2 separate regions of the Homo sapiens genome follow, and region 2 is linked to region 1. Evidence: promoter capture Hi-C in human tissues and cell types (Jung and others, 2019). All regions are on one chromosome and are shown on one strand. The core of a region is centred on a gene start or on the middle of the fragment in contact, and the rest is flanking DNA. Distances in the headings are between cores, read along the strand shown.

Evidence for each region. The method cuts DNA at HindIII sites, captures the fragments that hold promoters and counts their contacts. A contact is called where the count stands out against the background at its distance.
Region 2: a contact is called between a fragment that was not itself captured here and the fragment with the promoter of PRPS1L1 in region 1, in 2 of the 25 tissues and cell types used here (heart left ventricle and mesenchymal stem cells).

The regions. Positions count from the first base shown.
Region 1 is chr7:18,026,404-18,029,730 of GRCh38, forward strand. It overlaps PRPS1L1 (phosphoribosyl pyrophosphate synthetase 1 like 1), which reads right to left and starts at 1,443. Exons shown (of 1, transcript NM_175886.3): 1 at 367-1,443. The coding sequence starts at 1,379. The coding sequence ends at 423. The HindIII fragment of the contact is 4,496 bases long and covers 569-3,327 here.
Region 2 is chr7:18,067,243-18,070,530 of GRCh38, forward strand. No RefSeq gene overlaps it. Among named protein-coding and RNA genes, the nearest start is that of PRPS1L1, 41 kb to the left of the region's middle. The HindIII fragment of the contact is 3,716 bases long and covers 1-3,192 here.

The DNA.
Region 1 (3,327 bases), core at 193-2,692:
AAGTGGGGGTTTGGGGCAGGGGGTAGATTGGGTGGCTTTATTGCTAGTTGTTCTGAAAAAAGAAAACTCCGAAGCATTTACATGTAAGCTTTCCAACCACTTTCAAACACCTCTACAAAACACCCTCAGAAGTCTGAAATCTTTGCAGCAGAAGGGCTGTAGTTAAAGCTGCTGGGCTAACAAAATCATCAAAGAAGCCAGATGAGACAACCCAGTCAGGAAATCCTAGTGATTATTCTTAACCTGTTTTTCCCTAATTTAAGGTAAACTCTTATATACCTGATGTGGGATGTAGAAAGTTACACTGGAGCAAGCTGGATCTTCTGCTGAACTTTTAATCAAACCTAAGAAAAAATAAAGGCAAGGTTTGTTTTTATTAATCTTATTTTATTTTAAAATAGCATAACCTAGAAGTTATTCTGTTATAAAGGAACATGGCTGAACAGGTAGGAAACAGATTCCCCATTATGAGTTCTCCTTATGGCTTCTGCAAGGATCATGGAGATGTCAATTACTCGTATTTTGGAGCAATGCTTCATCTTCTCATCTTGAGGTATGGTATTGGTGACTACCACTGCTTCAAAGCATGCAGTGTTGATGCGAGAAATGGCTGGGCCAGAAAAGATTCCATGAGTCAAGATAGCATAAACTCTGGTTGCTCCAGCTGAGAGAAGTTTGTCAGCTGCGAGGCAGATTGTAACACAAGTGTCTGCCATGTCATCTACAAGGATAGCCACACGATCATTCACATCTCCCACTAGCACTATGCAGTCCACTTCATTGGCCTTCTTCCGTTCTTTATGAATCAAAGCAAAGTCCACATTCAACTGGTCTGCAATGGAGGTCACTCTTTTAGCTCCACCAGCATCTGGCGAGACAATAATGCAGTTCTTCCACTCAGGGATATTCTCCCTTATCCACTTCAGGACAGTTGGCTCTGCATACAAGTTGTCTACTGGGATATCAAAAAAGCCCTGAATTTGAGAAGCATGTAGGTCCATGGTGATGATATGATCCGCACCTGCTATAGAGAGCATATTTGCAACAAGCTTGGCAGAGATTGGGGACCGGCTCTTATCCTTCTTATCCTGTCGGGCATAAGGGAAGCATGGGATGACTGCAGTAACTCGGCTAGCTGAAGCAATCTTGCAGGCATTAATCATGATCAAAAGCTCCATTAGACTGTCGTTGATTTCGCCACAACCACTCTGAACGATGTAGACATCCTCTCCACGCACACTCTCATCAATTTCCACGCAGGTCTCCTGGTTGCTGAATTTCTTAGTCACCACCTTGCCTAGCTCCAGGCCCAGGCGGTCAGCAATTTTCTGGGATAAGTCCTGGTGGGAGCTGCCGCTGAAGATTTTGATATTCGGCGTCTTGGCCAACTACCAGAGGCACTCCGTCGAGCGATCCAGCTGCCGCTGAGGCTGGAACGGAAGTGAAGCACAGACTCTAATGGCTTCCGGTTGTTACTCAACCGTTAGGGTCCCTTCCCCCTTGCGGCGCGCGGTCCCAAATTGACCCTGGGTCTCTTGAAAAAATTTCTGCTTGCCACCTCCCACTTCACACTTTTAGACTAAATAATCAAGTATTTACAGTGTATGGAGTTTTTTTCTATTAGCACCTATATTAGTTTCACAGGGCTATTTAAACAAATTTGAATGCATAAAAACATAAAACTACAAAGCAAAACCCAAGTTTAAAAGGAAAATTACCTACTAAAGTATATGCAAAAGATTATTTTAGAAAGAATTTCCCCAATGAAGTGAGAAAAAGACAATAAAATAGAAAGTTGAAAAATGGCATAAATAGGCAATCACAGTAAAAAAAAAATGGATAAGAAACGTGAAACAATGGAAGTAATCAAGAAAACGCTATTTTCACACATCAAGTAGCCAAAATGTTAAGATAAGGTCTTCTATTCGGATGGAATGTATAAATATGTAGATTTTGCATGGGTAATTTTGCACATAAACTTTGACTCATCATGTATACTTCTAGGAATCTATTTCAGAGAAATTTTCACAAGCACCCCAAATATATATGGCTACATAGTAGTGTAGCTGTATTCATTCATGCAATAAATATTTTGTGAACACCTCCTATATGTCAGGTATTATACTACTTCTAGGGTATAAAAATTGTGCATGACAAATAGTAATTGCCCTAGAATTGTTTATAAAAGCAAAATATGGGAACCAACAAATGTTCATCAATAGGTAAATTACCAAATAATTTATTGTATATACATATGCGACCATTAAATAGATTAAGTGTAATCATGTGGAAATGTCTCCTAGGTATTTTTTTAAAGGTAAAGTCAGTCACAAAAATATCATAGTATTATATTTATGTATTTAAGATTATGTGATACTGAAAGCATCCAATTAGCATGGAAGTCCTCTTTATAATAATTACCTTTGGAGAGGGGAGTAGGTTGTGAGAGTTGAGAATGAAGGAGGACTGTTACATTTTACTGCTATCAGTGTGGCATTTGAACATTTATTACTTTTGTAGTAAAAATGATGAACAAAATGTATTTGGTAATTAAATGTTTGTTAGCAAATTTTAAGTATACAGCTTCTATGGCGTATCGGGGCTGGAAATAGTGAGGAAGGAGGCAGAAAGGACCATAGATGCCAATGATTTCATAAAAATAATGGAGGCATCAGATACAGATCAACCATTTATATCTTGCTAATTGTGTGCCTGACATTTGGATACCAGGGTGTTTTTATTTAGCCTAAAACCAAATCATCATTTTTTTCATATTGTAAGATAACCAAATAATTTAAGAGATTTTCTCACCACACTTCTGGGCTTCCTTAATGTGTTGGGTTCATGAATAGGATAAACTCAGAAATGGGATAAGAAATGGGGTAGGCAACAAAGATGGGTAAGATTCAGCAATGTCTGTGAAAAACATTACTTAGCTATAAAAAGGTAGTTTTATATATTGAATGAGGTATTATTATAAACTCAAATAAACAGCTATGTTTTAAATTTTACACCAAAATGGCTTGCTGCTGATCCAATCATTTCTCTCCTGGCATCAACATGGTTTTCTCTCTAGTTCAGCCTCTTCCTGGTTGACAGTGTATGCCAGCCCATTTCTGTCCATAACCCTTCATTCATATTCTTTTTATCACACACACAAAAAATCAACAGACCTACCTATACCACATAATTCTCACCCTTAGCCAGACTACATAAAGTGATTTCTAAAAATCCCGTGGCTTAATTTAGAAGCACTAATAGTATTTGTAGTTTCAATTTATTTTTCTCTTACTATTCTGTGTGTCACACATTTTTCAGTGTTGTTTA
Region 2 (3,288 bases), core at 85-2,584, 41 kb after region 1:
CACATGTTCATAATTAAGTTGAAACAGACACACACACACACACACACACACACACACACACACACAAAGTGATTCTTCCCTGGCCAGTGAGACTAAAGCTTGGATAAATACAAGCATGTCCTAGATACCTTTAATGCAGTTAGGTGGGAAAATCCAGCATTCTCGGGAAACCTTGGAATTTTAAGCTTTAGTGAGCTGCCTGGTGTGCCTTAAAACAGGTATCCAATCTCATTCTAGTGATGATGATAGAGCAACATGGTAGCCCCAGTCAGAATATTTTGCGGTTGACTGACTTAAAGACTTATTCTTATTACAGGTGGTTTTAGCCTATATAATAGTCCAGGCAGAAAAACAGATAGCACAATCAAAGGTGTAATCAAAGGTGTAAAAAGGGCTTCAGTGACAACGTATAGAGGTGTAGGCAAGGTTTAAAATAGTCAACAAGTAATAAAGTACCTAGGAACTGGGTACTTCTGGTATTCTTGCAGCAATAGCAGCAAGTCCTTAGTATCCCTAGGTCTGAAGAGTTGAGAAGTGAGGGCAATTTAACAAACCCTGTAAGAGCCATAGCTCTGGAAACTTCAAGCTGAAGAGGCATGCAGTCACTACCAAGCTGTGGCCCAGCAGACAAAGCTGGGAGTGGTGGTACTAAATAATATGTGACCTCTCTTTCTGAGCCTCACATTGGCCAAACCCAACCAGGTGCCCAAAGGCAAGGAAGCCAGGTGATGCAGTCTGCAGAGGTCAGCCATCTGGGCTGACTGAGAAGAGAATGAATGAAATAATTCTCTTTAAACTGCAAAATGTGACCCAATTACCATGAAACTGAAACTACATTGAAATTAAACTGAAAATGTGACCCGTTTACTGATTACTGATTACACAAAGCTACAAATGATGAAGAGCTGAGCATAAATGAACAGTTAAGATTGGAATCTAAAATGAATTGACACATTTAATAATGTGCTCAGTCAATATTGTGTTCATTTCTTTATCCATTCAGACATCTACTTGTCTTTTCAAGGTAAGTGGTTTACTGTAGAATGTGATTTATATTCAAAGTCTAACTTAATTTTTAATTTTTAAAAACTTTCTCCTTTGTTAGTATATCAGAGGGCCAGGATTAGAACCAAGGAATAATAGGACTGAAAGAAATATGCAGCATTTTATTTAATAAGTTTATGGATAACTGAGTTCCACTTGCATACCTGAACAATTTTATGTTGAATAGCTTGAGAAAGAAGCAGCAGCAGCAACTGGGCCTGTTAGGACAAATGAGAAAGAGGACTGGGTTGATTTGGGTGAGCAGGAAAAGAGTAGACTCGAGCAGCTGGAAATGCTGGTAGCAGCTCACATATTAGTGTGTCCACACTTGTCCCTAGCAACGATTCTATAGCTACAGCAGTAAGCTTATCCTGCTTAAGGTGACAAAATTAACGGCAATGTATTTGCACTAGAATATAATCAATATCATATTGTTTCTATTTTGATGGATGTGAGTGAAAATGGGGGAAAAGTAAAGTTTTGGGTTTGGAAAATAAACTGATTGATTAATCCCATGTACCTTTCATGTAATTGTATCAGTTTGGGCTTGATTCTACATCCTCCTGCCTACTTCTCTTAACTCATTCGGGAGTGAACAAAGGAAGGAATTGCCTAAGCACCAGTGTGAAAGCCAAAGCATAGAGTCCGACACACCTGGAGTCTAATCTTGGTTCACGTCTTACCAGTTCTGTGAACTTAGGCAAGTTACTTAATCCCTCTAAGCCTCAGTTACCTCATGTTGATTATTGTACATTTCTCACAGGGTTATTATTTGGGTTGATTGAGATAATGCAAATAGAGAGAAACATATGATACTTATGAACTCTCATTAAATGTTAGCTGTGGTGATGATGATGATCACAACACCAATGACCATGTTTAGGATGGTTCTGATTGTTATTTTCGCTGGGAGCAATATCCACTAAATTTTAGATTTGATAAAATGGCATTATTTGAGAATGTCACAAGTATGTATTATAAATAAAACTATTACTAAATTAAGATTTAAGATAACATTTTAATATAGACACCTGTAAGTAAAGAAACATTCAGTATGAGTTTAGTTTTGACCACAAATTCTTCCTAACCAGGGATCCCTGAAAGGCCGGGGATCCACATCTTGGTTAATTTTTTCAGTCCTCTTGGGTCTTAGTCTTTGGTCTTTTTCAATAAATATCTGTTTGACAGTATCCTTATTGGCCTTCTTGGCCTCATTTCCCTGGAATGCCTCTTTCTGTGCTATTATGGATGTTGCAAGGTAGGTCTGGATTGCTTTTGCAAATAATCAAGTTTACTGAATATTTGTATTACCAAGATTTGCTGACTTAGTGCTCAAGTCTTATGAGCTTCCTTTGTTTTGCTCATATTTCTGAATATTGCATCTTTTGCCTTCTGCATTCAATAAACTGTGCAGTAGACCCTTGTGTTGCTACTTCGGTATAATTTGTTAGGAGCTGGGCCCCAAAGTCAGACTGTCTGTGTCTGAATTAGGCTTCATTATTCATTCATTAGCTGTGAGATTTAACTAGTCAACTTTATTCTGTCTTAATTTCCTCTTCTTTAACAGTGACAATTATCAGTACCCAAATCGTAGGGTTGTAAAAATTAAATGAGATCATCTATGTGCTAGCACCTAGTCTAGTGCCTTGTATATAGGAAATCCTTAATAAATATTACAATACGTTCAATACTACTTGAACTTCCTCCCCATGAGACGATTATACTTCTTTCCACTGAAGTTAGGCATGGCCAAATGATTTGCTTTTGCTAATGAAATATGAGCAGAGCAGATGTATGTAATTCTCATTTGGAAGCTTTTAGAGCCAGTGCACCCATCCACCATAGCTTTGTTTCCTCGATTATGAGAATGCACTTTCAGGATAGCTATGTTCTATGTGCCTAGGCCTTGGAATAGAGACATTGTAGAAGAGACTGATAGCGGACCTGCCAAGGACCAATTTCATGAACATAAAATAAACCTTTAAAGTGTGTGTGGGGGGGTGTTCGTAATTTTGCATAACTTTTAAAAAGCAAATACATTCCTCATGCCATCAGAATTCATTGTCAGACTATTACTTGTTCACTGTCTATCTGCAGGTCTTTGCTTATGTTTACTTTTTAATGACAGAAATATCTGTAAAGACATGTTTTTACTTTCATAGCAAATTTGCCCACTTGGCCAGTAAAAGACTTCTGAGCAAGATTGCAGTGAGCCGAGATGTGCCACTGCACTCCAGCCTGGTG